5 separate regions of the Homo sapiens genome follow, and all the other regions are linked to region 1. The links are contacts of gene promoters, found by promoter capture Hi-C in blood cells and fetal thymus (Javierre and others, 2016). All regions are on one chromosome and are shown on one strand. Each heading gives the region's core, a stretch centred on a gene start or on the middle of the fragment in contact. The rest is flanking DNA. Distances are from core to core; before and after follow the strand shown.

What was found. The method cuts DNA at HindIII sites, captures the fragments that hold promoters and counts their contacts. A CHiCAGO score of 5 or more calls a contact.
Region 2: a fragment that was not itself captured here is called in contact with the fragment with the promoter of FRRS1 in region 1 in 1 of 17 cell types (megakaryocytes); the score reaches 5.3 in megakaryocytes.
Region 3: the fragment with the promoter of DBT here is called in contact with the fragment with the promoter of FRRS1 in region 1 in 16 of 17 cell types (erythroblasts, monocytes, M0 macrophages and 13 more); the score reaches 31.7 in erythroblasts.
Region 4: a contact is called between a fragment that was not itself captured here and the fragment with the promoter of FRRS1 in region 1, in 1 of 17 cell types (erythroblasts). The highest score is 5.1, in erythroblasts.
Region 5: the fragment with the promoter of RTCA here is called in contact with the fragment with the promoter of FRRS1 in region 1 in 2 of 17 cell types (M0 macrophages and M2 macrophages); the score reaches 6.4 in M0 macrophages.

The regions. Positions count from the first base shown.
Region 1 is chr1:99,765,262-99,767,961 of GRCh38, reverse strand. FRRS1 (ferric chelate reductase 1) reads left to right here and starts at 1,327. Exons shown (of 17, transcript NM_001361041.2): 1 at 1,327-1,355. The HindIII fragment of the contact is 6,315 bases long and covers 1-1,580 here.
Region 2 is chr1:100,064,931-100,067,630 of GRCh38, reverse strand. All of the region lies in intron 5 of SLC71A1 (solute carrier family 71 member 1), which reads right to left. Among named protein-coding and RNA genes, the nearest start is that of SLC71A1, 28 kb to the right of the region's middle. The HindIII fragment of the contact is 158 bases long and covers 1,205-1,362 here.
Region 3 is chr1:100,248,489-100,251,188 of GRCh38, reverse strand. DBT (dihydrolipoamide branched chain transacylase E2) reads left to right here and starts at 1,355. Exons shown (of 11, transcript NM_001918.5): 1 at 1,355-1,419. The coding sequence starts at 1,369. RefSeq lists a silencer at 1,136-1,235 and enhancers at 1,346-1,465, 1,067-1,626, 1,627-2,186. The HindIII fragment of the contact is 8,889 bases long and covers 1-2,700 here.
Region 4 is chr1:100,126,761-100,129,460 of GRCh38, reverse strand. All of the region lies in intron 1 of SASS6 (SAS-6 centriolar assembly protein), which reads left to right. Among named protein-coding and RNA genes, the nearest start is that of SASS6, 4.8 kb to the left of the region's middle. The HindIII fragment of the contact is 790 bases long and covers 857-1,646 here.
Region 5 is chr1:100,264,948-100,267,647 of GRCh38, reverse strand. It overlaps RTCA (RNA 3'-terminal phosphate cyclase), which reads right to left and starts at 1,432. Exons shown (of 11, transcript NM_003729.4): 1 at 1,228-1,432; 2 at 1,024-1,124. The coding sequence starts at 1,272. RTCA-AS1 (RTCA antisense RNA 1) reads left to right here and starts at 1,474. Exons shown (of 3, transcript NR_110435.1): 1 at 1,474-1,644; 2 at 1,731-1,819; 3 at 2,401-2,700. RefSeq lists enhancers at 1,264-1,623, 1,192-1,741. The HindIII fragment of the contact is 11,806 bases long and covers 1-2,700 here.

The DNA.
Region 1 (2,700 bases), core at 78-2,577:
CACTATTGTAAAACCTAAGATCAGTGCTTGAGATATTTTGCAGAGCCTGGACTCGGTGGATCAGCTGATGCCACACAGACCGGTAATTGGGCTCACCCAGTTCTGCCATCCCACCCAGGAACAGAAGACAGCAAGAAAACCTCACGTCGACCCCCCATGATTCCATCTCCAATCTGACCAATTAGCACTCCCACTTCCCAAGCCCCTACCCGCCAAATTATCTTTAAAAATTCTGATCTCCGAATCCTGGGGAGACTGTGTTGAGTAATAATAGAACTCCGGGCTGGGCGCGGTGGCTTATGCCTGTAATCTCAGCACTTTGGGAGGCTGAGGCAGGTGGAATCACTTGAGGTCAGGAGTTCCAAACTAGCCTGGCCAACATGGTGAAACCCTGTCTCTGCTAAAATACAAAAATTAGCCGGGCGTGGTGGCGGGCGCCTGTAGTCCCAGCTACTGGGGAGGCTGAGGCAGGAGAATCGCTTGAACCTAGGACGGGGAGGCTGCAGTGAGCCGAGATCATGCCACCGCACTCCAGCCTGGGCCACAGACAGAGACTCCGTCTCAAAACAAAACAAAACAAAACAAACAAACAAACAAAACAAAAAACTCCGGTCTCCTGCACAGCCAGCTCTGCGTGAATTACTCTTTCTCCATTGCGATTCCCCTGTCTTGATAAATCGGCTCTGTCTAGACAGCGGGCAAGGTGAACCCACTGGGCAATTACAATGTCACTCAAGGTCTGAAATGGAATGTTTAATATTTTCAATTACATTAAAGAGAAGAAAAAAAGTAAAAAACAGGAAAACAAAAAACAAAATAAAAACAAAGATTGTTAAAAATTCAATTACATTGTCTTTTCCTAGCCCTAAAATTTTTCTTTTGCAAAAGAGTCTTGTGAAACAGATTAAAGGCTTAAAAAGAAACAAAACTCCTAAATTTCAGGGGTAATTTGCAAAATAAAAGATTTCTTTTGCATTATATCATTCACACTGCAGAAAGGTTTCGGTTCTATGCAATCTGATCTTTTTCCACTTTTTAAAAGTTAATTTGCTTTTACTTAGCACTATTATAGAACAGGTATTTTCAAATAGTTTTGCAATTAAACACAAAAACTATAATTTTTGTGGCGAAGTAGGTACTAGTTGGCAAACACTGTTCCTTAGTGTAAAACAGAATTCTAAGTTTTCAGAAATGGAGTCCTAAAACTAGCACTGGTCTTGCAAATCAAGTTCTGCAGCTTAGTTTGGGAAAGGTTCCCTTTTGGCTCAAGGCTTAACTGGCTCCACCCAGCTGCTGAAATGTGATACAAGTTGTAACAAAACCGGAAGTTGGTTAGGCTGCCTTCGCTTCTCAAGGTAAGTGTCACGTCTTTTTCCTTAATGTCAAAGCTCTTTGTAAAGCGTTAAAAATCAAATCCAGCTTAGCGACAGACTGGAGAGCGAGTGCCTGTGCTGACCAGGGCAGTCGGCCAGGCAGAACGGGTGCTGTATTCCGAAACTATGTTCTGGAGCTTGAATTGAGCTAATGAGTGTTCACTAACGAGTTAGGTTAATATGTCCTGTGACTTTGACTAACAAGCTTTAATTCCAAGATATGGGTGGTTATAAGTAGAGACGTGTTTGGGATCCTGAAAATCATTGACTTTATTCTTGCAGGAGTTTTTTTTTTGTTTTTAATTTTAAATTTAAAACTGTAGGAACTCTTTTTTTATATTTAAAGCTAGTGGCATGGTTACCTATATCAGGGTCACTTAGAACCTTATTTGGTTTTTAAAGTGGCTTTTTATCTAGAACTTTTAGTCCCCTTACCCTCCCACTCCCTAGCCCTGGTGTGTCGTTAAAATTTCAGAAAGACTCCAGGGTGGCAAGGTGTTATCACTGCACTTATTTTTGTGTGTGCTTGTCATACTGCCCTAAAGGGTAAAGGGGATTTTTCAAATTGTAAATGTGTTATTAGGAATATTTCTTAACATAGCTAAACTTTTCAGTTCAGATATTTTCATTTGCTTCTGTATTTTTATTTTTTATTTTTATTTATTTATTTATTCATTTATTTTTGAGACGGAGTCTCGCTCTGTCCGCCAGGCTGGAGTGCAGTGGCGCGATCTCGGCTCACTGCAAGCTCCGCCTCCCGGGTTCAAGCGATTCTTCTGCTTCAGCCTCCTGAGTATACTGCTGGGATTACAGGCGCCCGCCACCACGCCCGGCTAATTTTTTGTATTTTTAGTAGAGACGGGGTTTCACTGTGTTGGCAAGGATGGTCTCTATCTCCTGACCTCGTGATATGCCCGCCTCCGCCTCCCAAAGTGCTGGGATTACAGGCTTGAGCCACCGCGTCTGGCCTATTTATTTATTATTTTCGAGACGGAGTGTTGCTCTTGTGGCCCAGGCTGGAGTGCAACGGCGGGATTTCGGCTCACTGCAACCTCTGCCTCCCGGGTTCAAGCAATTCTCCTGCCTCAGCCTCCTGAGTAGCTGGGATTACAGGCAGGCACCACCACACCCGGCTAATTTTGTATTTTTAGTAGAAACGGGGTTTCTCCATGTTGGTCAGTCTGGTTTCGAACTCCCAGCGTCAGGTCATCTGCCTGCCTCGGCCTCCCAAAGTGCTGGGATTACAGGCGTGAGCCACCGCGCCCAGCCACTTCTGTATTTTTAAAAAAGTGGTAAGATTTGAGTATTATACTGGGATAGAACTGAA
Region 2 (2,700 bases), core at 34-2,533, 300 kb before region 1:
CTATGTTGCCTAGGCTAGTCTCGAACTCCTGAGCTCAAGCGATCCTCCCACCTCAGCCTCCCGAAGGGCTGGGAGTACAGGTATGAGACACCAAGCCTGGCCCCACTTTTCTTATACTCTCTCCTTTGGCAGGAAAAGTAAAGAATTAGATTCTTGCCTTAAAAACAGCCTGGACAACATGGAGAAACCCTGTCTGTATCAAAAAAGAAAAAAGAAAAATTAGCTGGGCATGCTGGTGTGCACCTGTAGTCTCAGCTACTTCAGAGGCTGAGGTGGCAGAATTCCTTTGAGCCAGAAAGGCGGAGGTTGCAGTGAGCCATGACAGCACCACTGCACTCCAGCCAGGGTGACAGAGTGAGACCGCATCTCAAAAATAAAATAAAATAAATGATAGCCTCTCAGGACACTGTCTTCAAACTTTCTAAGCCTTGGAGCCCTCTGTTCCAATAAATCCTACTGGCAAATTCATAGGTAAAAGAGATTTTTTTAAGAAGACTGGGTGTGATGGTTCATGCCTGTAATCTCAGCACTTGGGGAGGCCAAGGTGGGAGGACTGCGTGAAGCCAGAAGTTTGTGACCAGCCTGGGCAACACAGCAAGACCCTGCCTCTATTTAAATTTTTTTTTTTTTTTTTTTTTTTTTGAGACGGAGTCTCGCTCTGTCGCCCAGGCTGGAGTGCAGTGGCGCGATCTCGGCTCACTGCAGGCTCCGCCCCCGGGGTTTACGCCATTCTCCTGCCTCAGCCTCCCGAATAGCTGGGACTACAGGCGCCCGCCACCTCGCCCGGCTAATTTTTTGTATTTTTAGTAGAGATGGGGTTTCACCGTGTTAGCCAAGATGGTCTCGATCTCCTGACCTCGTGATCCGCCCGCCTCGGCCTCCCAAAGTGCTGGGATTACAGGCGTGAGCCACCATGCCCGGCCTATTTAAATTTTTTAACTCTTTTAGTTGAGGAAGGGTTGAGAGCCTGGGCACTGTACAAACACCCCTCCTTGACTGCCAGTCATGCTGGTCCTTAGGGGAGGGGTGTCTAATCTTTTGGCTTCCCTGGGCCACGCTGGAAGAACGGTCTTGGGCCACACATAAAATACACTAACAATAGCTGATGAGCTTAAAGAAAAAAAAACTGCATAATGTTTTAAGAAACTTTATGAATTTCTGTTGGGCCATGTGTGCAGCCTGTGGACCATGGGTTGGACAAGCTTGGTTAAGGGCATCTCCATAAACCCTTAAGTGCTCTCTGTGAAAGGAGTCTAAAATCCACTGCTCTAAGGAAATCCAATTTCACTGTGACTTTTCCAATATTAAAATTAAATGAACGTTTATCTTGATACATACTGAAGGGCTAGCTGAAATAAAGCTTAAAGACTTGGAGGTTCCTGTTCTCATGAATAATATGTTAAGCCCTGGAACAAAACTGAGCTTGGTAATCTTTTTAGTTGGCAGGGTTAGGAAGAATGAAATCACAGATAAATTAAGAACATCTCTAAAACTCTGAGGAAGTCTATTTTTTTAAGCCTGGTGAAGATGAAGATTAAAGTTGAAAAGGACACGAGTAGAGCAAACCTGTTAACCGCAGACATTTCTAGCCTACTGGACAACAGCCTACAAATTAGCAGATGTGACAGCAGGAAACACTTCATAAAAATAGCACTCTTAGTCAGGTGAGGTGGCACCTGCCTATAGTCCCAGCTACTCAGGAGGCTGAGGTGGGAGATCACTTGATCCCAAGAGTGAGTCCAGTCTGGGCAACACCCTGTCTGGAAAGGAAAGAGGAAAGGAAAGCAAAGGGAAAAGGAATGGAGAAAGGGGAAAGAAGAGGAGAGGAGAGAAGAGAAGAGGAAAGGAAAGGAGAGGAGGAGAAAGGAAAAGGGGAAAGGGGAAGAGAAAAGGGGAAGGAAAGGGTTAAAAAAGGGAAAAGGCTTAGGGAAAAGGCTTAAGGAAAAGGGGAAAGGGGAAGGGAAAGGAAAAGGAAAGAAAAAGAAAAAAGAAGGGAAAGGGAAAAGGGGAGGGGAAAGGAAAGGGAAAAGGGGAAGGGAAGGGAAGGGAAGGGAAAAGAGAAAAGGAAAGGAAAGGAGAAAGGTGAAAGCGAAAAGGAAAGGGGAAAGTGAAAGTGAAAAGTGGAAAGGGGAGGGGAGGGGAGGGGGAAGAGAAGGGCAAAGGAAAGGAAAGGGGAAGGGAAGGAAAGGAAAAGGACCATATTCTTTCAAAGCATAGAGATTAATGTTGGAATTTTATTCTGTTTCTATGCCATTTTTGACTTTTGGATGGAGAACTTAAACTTCACAAGAATGCTTACTTGCAACTCTATTGCTTAAGGCAAGCAATTCAATTTTCAAAGGTCAATTATTTGAACAAGTACATAAAATTCTAGTAATTTCAAACATCTAGCTATCAATCAAATGTCCATCAACTGATGGATAAGAATACACTACACAGCAATCAAAAAAAACTACTGGCCAGGTGCAGTGTCTCATGCCTGTAATTCCAGCACTTTGGGAGGCTGAGACAGGCAGATCACTTGAGTTTAAGAGTTTGAGACCATCCTGGGCAACATGGTGAAACTCCATCACTACAAAACATACAAAAATTAGTAGTCCCAGCTACTCGGGAGGCTGAGGTGGAAGGATCACTTGAGGCAGGGAGGTAGAGGGGAGACAGAGGCTGCAGTGAGCTGTAACGGCACCACTGCACTCCAGC
Region 3 (2,700 bases), core at 106-2,605, 480 kb before region 1:
CTTGAAATTCTTTTGACTACTCTAGATTTTCTGAGAAAGATAGCTATTTAGGCCGGACCCAGTGGCTCATGCCTGTAATCCTAGGACTTTGGGAGGCTGAAATGGGAAGATCGCAGTTTGAGACCAGGACTTTGAGACCAGCCTGGGCAACATAGAGAGATCCCATCTTGAACTTCTGAGCTCAAGCCATTTGCCTGCCTCAGCCTCCCAAAGTGCTGGAATTATGGGCAGGAGCCACCACGCCTGGCCCAAGAGACCCTATCTCTACCAAACAAACAAACAAACAAAAAAGATAATAAGATTTATTGTTTGCATTGATTTTTTGTGTGTAGATGTGTAATACATAAAATGGCAAATGAGGGGGAAAAGTGTTTGGGTCATATTAAACAATGAAGTTGTGAAATACCTGAGATTTTGTTTCATAACCACTAATCTTCAATGTTGAGCATTTAAAATGTATTTGTTCCAGTTTTTTTTCTCTGTAATTCCTTAGACATCTGTGCAGATTTTCATTCCCACGTAAGAAGCAATAACAGACTAATGTCATCCTGGACATTTCCAGGAATTGGTTTCCTAGTTGCTCTGAGGAAGATTGCCTTTTAAAAGAAAGCTCTGATCTGTTCTTTACCAGTTCCACTTGACCTGAATTTGACATTTCTTTAAGAGACAACTAAATCAAGATCATGTGTCTGTGACATGTATTGCATATGCTAGTTAGCTGCATCTGATAGCAGTCTGTAAAAAGAAAGATGATAACATGTTTATTTTAGACATTAGGTAATGTTCATCTTTCATGAAAAAAATTGATTAGCCAATTTTGGTAATCAAAAACATAAATGGGAGTAAAAAAGGCAGTCATTGGGAAGTACTGCTGTATGGACTTGTGAAACAACTAGTTGTCCAGAGCCTTGCTACAACGTATAGAAATATTCTATTTTCTGTATTTGGGGCGGCTACACTACAAGATGAAGACGGGGAAATGTTTTCCAACTCATCGCTCAGGTCCTACTGCAACATAACTTTCTTGAGGTAAGTACCTTTCTTTGTGTTTCCTTAACACTCTCTATTTTCCCCATCACATACACTAAAAAGATTATCTTTGGTGCATCTGTATTTACACAGCAGTGTTAAATTTGGGCTGCCCTCTGCCCCGCCTCCGTCCCCCAGGCTCTTTTCACTCCCCGCTGGGTCCCAGATCCTAGGGTTTAGCTCAGGCTCCGCCCTACTCCTTGGTTGGCTGTTGGGTGGGAGGCTCGTTTCTTCCCTCCCTATTGGTCGCCCAGGGGGAGGCGCGTTTCCCATCTCCTGATAGGCCGCGCCGAGGAGAGTCTCTCCAGTTTGCGGCACTGTTGTCATTTCCGGGGTAAGATGGCTGCAGTCCGTATGCTGAGAACCTGGAGCAGGAATGCGGGGAAGCTGGTAAGCACGTTTGGGCAGATCTGAGGCCGGGAAGGAGTGATTTGTCCGGAGTCATCCAGGAGTGGTGTTTTACTTTCTCCTCCGGTGCCAGGCGTCCAGGGCACGCGTGATGGAGAGGTGAAGGGATGCATGCAAAATAAAGGGCAGAGAACGGAGCGAGTCGACCAGTCTGGAGTGGAAACCCACTCCCTCCCCTTACCTGGAAGCGCTTCTGCAGCGACTCAGCCGTCCTGCTCCATCTGTACCCCGAGGCCCAGCTAGCGTTTTATTGAGCGCCTTCCAGGTGCCCAGGCATTGTGATAGGCGCTGTGGATCCAGAGATATATTCGTTTAGCATTTATTGCGTACCCACAGTATGCCAAACACTGGTAACACGACCCCTACCCTCAAGGAATCTACAGTGTGTAGAGGAAGAGGCCGTTCAAGTTATAGAATATCAGCAGGGGTCCCTGCTTCCGAAGAACTGAGCAGCTCGGCGTCACTCTTTTGCCTTGTACTTCTATGTCCGCACCACATATCATTCCTACCCTTTTGTCACCAAGGCTGTGACCCATCACCATCTCCCCTGCACTTCCTTCTCTTTCTCCCAGTCTTAGCACCAAGCACTGACACATACCGGTAATGATACTTGTTACCCCTATTTGCTTAGTGTTTCTTCTTCCTGCCTCTTCTCCCTTTCCCTAGATGCTCCTGCCTTGGTGACCCCGATCTTACAAAAACTTTCAAGAGCCTGCTATGTACCAGTGCTGTGTTAGGCACTGGAGATACAAATATGAAATAGACATCATATCTTCCTTCTCAAGAGATTACAACCTTGTGGTGGAGGACAAAGGAGAGGGAGACAGATAGAAATTACAACCCAGCATGAGAGGTACTGTGATGGGACAAGTGCCTAGAACTACAGGAACACACAGGAGTGGACACCTATGGTGGACTTGGGGGTCAGAGGAGTTCCCAGAGGATACTGTATGACTTGAGATGTAAGAAGGATAAGTAAGAGATAACCAGGAGAAGAGAGCTCTTCTCAGCAACACTTAACACATATTGGTCTCTCTTCTTTCTAGAGCTTTCCATTCTTGTTTTCTGTGACACCAGTTTCCCAATATTATTCTTTCTTCATCTTTGGCCACTTCATCCCAATATCCTGTTTCCCTTCCCGCCTTTTAAATATTGCTTTTTCTAAAGGGCTCTGACTTTGGCCCTCTGCACTTTTCCCACTTTCTGGGTTATCCCATCCACTCTTTGGCTTTAGTTACCATCTATGCTGATGAGTCCTAAAGT
Region 4 (2,700 bases), core at 2-2,501, 360 kb before region 1:
AAGATTATTGTTAAATAAGATGATATATGTAGAATACCTGGCAGGTACTCAGTAGTGTTGGTAACCCTTCCCTCCCCTCTCATGGAGCCCTAAAATGCAATCAGAAGCAAATCTAGCAAAAAGTCATTAATCTCATCTCAATTTGAGGACAGAGACCATGGTTTTTTTTGTTTTGTTTTGTTTGTGTCATCCTATGTTCAAAAATTATTATTTTTTTTTTTTTAGAGAGAGGCTGTCACTCTGTTGCCCAGGCTAGAGTGTTGTGTCATAATCATGGCTTACTGTAATCTCAAACTCTTGGTCTTAAGCTCTCCTGCTTCAGCTTCCAGAGTACATGAAACTACAGGCATGCACCACCATGCCTGGCTCATTTTATAAATTTTTTGTAGAGATAGGATTTTGCTATGTTGCCCATGCTGGTCTTGAACTCTTGGCCTCAGGTGATCCACCCACCTCAGCCTCCCAAAGTGCTGGGATTACAGATGTGAGCCACTGTGCCAAGCCCCTGGACCATGTTTATTTCTGTTTGTATCCCTAGCACCTGGCACAATACCTGGCTTAAAGTACCTTTTATTTGTTTGATTGATAGTTTAAGAGCACAGCTACTGGGTGTCAGAGATGGCCTAGAATCCAGTTGTGCTAAAGCAAGCCTGATGTTTAGAATACTTTTTATTTAGAAGAACTCATAACTAAATCTAATGTCATTAGTATTAGACATCTATTGAGTACGACATCTATTGAGATGAGAAATAACATTTTATTGAGTTTTTATTGTTTTATATTGCTCTTATGACATTAACCATTATAAGGGAAAAAATAAGATTTGTGATTTTAGTTAGCGTATCCTCTGAAAGCTTGTATTTTTCTACAGCATATTTCTAGGGATGTTTTTTAACTAAGCATGGGGAATTCGTTTAACTTACAGGCCTTCCGTTTTTTCTTTCAACATCTAATGTATATAGGCATTTGGAATATATGCAACAATATCATTAATATGATTGGTAAATTGTCATAGTAATATAACTCTTCCAGGATTATGTAAAGAACACTTTGATAAGTGAATTCTTCTTGTACTTTTTGCAAATATATGAAGTATGACAGGACTTTTAAAACCGTAAAACACCGTCTAGGTGCAGTGGCCCACGCCTGTACTGCTATCACTTTGGGAGGCTGAGGTGGGCAGATCACTTGAGGTCAGGAGTTTGAGACCAGTCTGGCCAACATGGTGAAACCCCATCTCTACTAAAAATACGAAAATTAGCCAGGTGTGGTGTTGTGCCCCTGTAAACTCAGCTACTCAGGAGACTGAGGCAGGAGAATCGTTTGAACCTGGGAGGCGGAGGTTGCAGTGAGCCAAGATCGCACCATTGCACTCCAGACTGGGTGACAGAGCGAAACTCTGTCTCAAAAATAAATAAATAAATAAATAATTAAAATAAAAATAAACTGTAAAGCACCATAAAAAGTTAAATACCAACTGCAGTATCATACCACTATGGCATTTATACTAGAGAAAACTTCAGAAGATGAAAACCAAACATAATGATGTAGAGCTAAAAAGGTTTTCACAAACCTTCTAGTTGAATCCACTTATCTTACAAGTTCGGAAACTGAGTCCCCCCCTCCCCCACCCCACCACGAAAGCTTAATCTTGCTGTGTTGCCCAGACTGGACTTGAACCCCTGGGCTCAAGCTATCCTCCTGCCTCAGCCTCTGAAGTAGCCAGCACTACAGGTGGGAGGCACTGTGCCCAGCTCAGGAAAGCTTAAATGGAATTGGAGTAACACTCTAATCTGTTTCACATATGTTGCTTTAGATACTAGAAAAATAGCAACAGTGTATTCTCTTGTTTTGAAAATAATTCTTCCTCTCTCTGGTGTAAACCAGTGCTTCTTGTTCCTTTTCAGAAAACAGATACAAGTTATGAGGTAACATTTAACCTTATTGTACAAACGGAGATTTAGCATCCAATCATATGTTCAACAAGAAACTTAACTAAAATGACACATTTTAAACCCATATAAAATTACAAGTCAGCATTAAAAAATCTAAACAATTGAATCTAGCCTTGATCAACTGTTTCCAAGTTTTCCTATCAGTACTCAATTGCTGTTTATACTTTTTACTTGTGTAGTAGATAAGCAATAGTGTGGAAAAGGTTTAAAAGAAGTCCTTAGAAGAAAAACTTAAAATTGAACAAATTCTATTTGTTAGTTTACTTTTTTCTACCTGCACATCAAAGAAAGGCCATTGTTATTTAATTCTGGCAGAATAGTTTGAGAAGTACTTGTGCATAGGTATTTTTTACTAATTTCTCCCTTTATTTTCTGAATTATATAAGCATTTGTGCTCTATTTGATTAATGTTTATGAGCACTTTCACCTATATACCTCTGTCCAATTCTGGATTCTCTAAGATACAGCATAGGATGTGGAACACTGTGGTCTCTCCCTCTCAGGGCTTAAAGTTACTTTACTCAAGGATAAAATAGGTGTAATAAACTTGTTGATAATACTTCTGTGGTTTTATTACATAAAGAATATATTAAGCAGATTTAATTCGTGGATGTGAAAATACGTTTTTGTATGAATAAATGTAGGGAATATGTTATTTCCTTGATTTTAAACATTCAAAGCATTCTAATATCGCTTCACATATTAAGTTTTTATTTTATTTTATTTTATTTTTTGAGACAGGGTC
Region 5 (2,700 bases), core at 183-2,682, 500 kb before region 1:
AACATACAGAGACGCTAGGGGCAAGGTACACAGAGGAACCACCATGTGAAGAGGCAAAAAGACAGGCCTGGAGCAGATCCTTTTCTCATGGCTCTCAGAGGAAACCAACCTTGTCAGGACCTTGATCTTGGACTTCCAGCCTCCAGAACTGTGAGGAAATAAATTTCTGTTGTTTAAGCTCCACTCTGTGTGTGGCATTTTGTTATGGCAGCCCTAGCAAACTAATACAACACCTACAGCCTAATGAATTGGATTCCCCTGTTGGTGAACTGGAGGGCTGCAAACTATGACAAAGGCAATTAACATTAACATATCAGTAATTGCCTTTTGGTAATTTCAAAACTGTAGACAAAAGACTGAGACCGCTGATTTATTAAAATGTAATAAATACAGAATACATACAAAGCAATCAGTGTGGCTTCAAACCTGGGTCCTCTTCTAGCAGGTGCATGTACCTGAAGCTCAACTAGTGGCATGCCCAGCTACCCAGACAGAAGAAATAAGGTCAAATGTCAAGGTGTTTCCCTCTCCACAACAGATAATTCTGGTCATAACAGCTCTCTGGAGGTATGAATGAAGGCTGGGATAACACATCTCAGGATTCTTTCCTGTTTTATGATTCTAAAACTGACAGCAGAACCAGAATGCACTGGTTATAAAACAGGGTTTCCTCTGGCGTCACAAGCATTTCTGCCCTATCTATCTTGCCAGCTCATACGTGCTGTTCGGATATTTGGAATGCCCGGTGAGGTGAGAAAACATTTTAAAAGCTAGCTCTTCAGCAAATGACACTATTTAGTCAAACAGAGAAAACTCGAGACCATTTCTAAACTCACCCCTCCAGGCTTTCAAGACTTTACAACCCAGGCCACCGCCCAGGCAGAGTGCCCCGCCCTGGATCGCCCATACCTGCGTCTGGGACCTTCTGGGTTCCACCACTCGGACTCCCGATGCCCCAGCCCGGCAGCCCGACCCCCCGATCCCCCAGCTTCACGGCCCAACTCCCCCTCCAGCCAGATTTACCTCAGGCCTGGCGTGCTCCGGCCGGCTCGGATCTTCTGCACCCGCAAGGGGAGGCCTAGGAGACAGCTCAAGGCCGTAGAGACTCTCAGGATCTGGCCGCCCTGCAAAGGTTGGGGTACAGGGAGAAGAGAAGTAAGCACACCGGTGGTGAGAGCTCCCCTCCTTAGTTAGGCTGCAGCCCCGGCCGCTTCGCTCTGTACTCACCCCTTCCATGATGCTGCCATCGACCTCCACCCGCGGCCCCGCCATGGGGGACACCCTGGGGCCCAGCCCGCAGCGACAAAGCCTCCGCCAGAGCGGGAGAAAGAAGAGACGTTGGCTCCCGCCCAGTAGTTCAGAAACCTTGGTTCATGCCTGGGGCGCAGGAGCCTGACGAGAAAGCGGAAGAAGCGGCGCCTCTCGGGACACTGGAGTCAGCAGAAACGAACCCCCGGGTTCGCCCAGTTCCGCAGTCAGTGCGCATGCGCGTAGCTCGGCTTAAAGGAGCCGCGCTGGGAACACTGCGGTCGGGGCGAGGAAGCTGCCGGGGAAGTGAGATGACGGTCGCGGGGGTGCCCAGGAGCCCTGAAAAACTTGTGCCCTGGGCACGGCAAAATCTGCAGGTTGCAGAAAGTCTCAACTGTAAGATAACTCCTCCAGTTATCCCGCAGGCTTGTGCTTTATCTCTGTTTTGTGGGTAAATATGTGTTTATATCTGTTTTCTCGAGGATCCTGGCATACCCCGAGGTGCCGACTTTTAGAGCTGAAGATGCAAGAAAGATTGGGATCCTGCGATGCACCGAACCTGTCTCTCGAAGTGTGTGCGCCCTGGTACATTGATACTCTTGGCCTTTGGTTCCTTGCGGTGTGCGTGTTTGTGTATGCGGAGTGTGTTATCTTTCTTTCTAGGGTGACACACCATTTATTTGAGAGGCGGGAAAGGCAGAATCACTAGTTTAATATTCTGAAAAGCCAAAGTTATGCCATTTTGCTTGAGAGTGAGTGCAAGCTCTTGACTCCCAGGAACAGTGCAGCTAACAATTCACCTCAGGCGAGGGCAGAAGCAATAGCCAGCTTCTTGGTTCTGCCTGTGGCTCAGTTCCTACATAATTGAGTACCAAATAATATGTAAACCTCTAGGGAAGCAAAAAAGAGTAATTCAGCTTCTACCCCCGAAGTTATTGGAGGTATAATGGAGAGACTGAGACGTAATCAATTACAATGTCATCCTCAATAATAATTAACATGTACTGTATTTAGAGTTTATTATGGGGACAATTACAATATATTAATAATATACTGTAACAATAACAGGCAACACTTATTGAGCACTTAGGTGTTGTGCACTGCATGCATTCATAACATGATAAAGTACTTACTGTTTTTACTGTTTTACAGCTTCCTGTGTTAAACAATTTGCTACAAGGTCACACAATTTTAACTAGAAGACTGAGATGTGAACCTGGGTGGTCTGATGTGAACACCACTGTCTGGTAATCCCAACGCTCTGCTGCTTTGCGACAGAGAATGTTTTAGGGAACACACAGACTATGTACTTAACCAAATCTGGAATTTGCCGTAAGATATTAATCAGAGAAGTAATGATACTTGCATTTTAAAATGAAGGCTTTGGCAGTAGGAGAAGGGTGAATAAGAGGCTTAAGAGCCTGAAGGGAGAAATGCCAATGATACAATTAT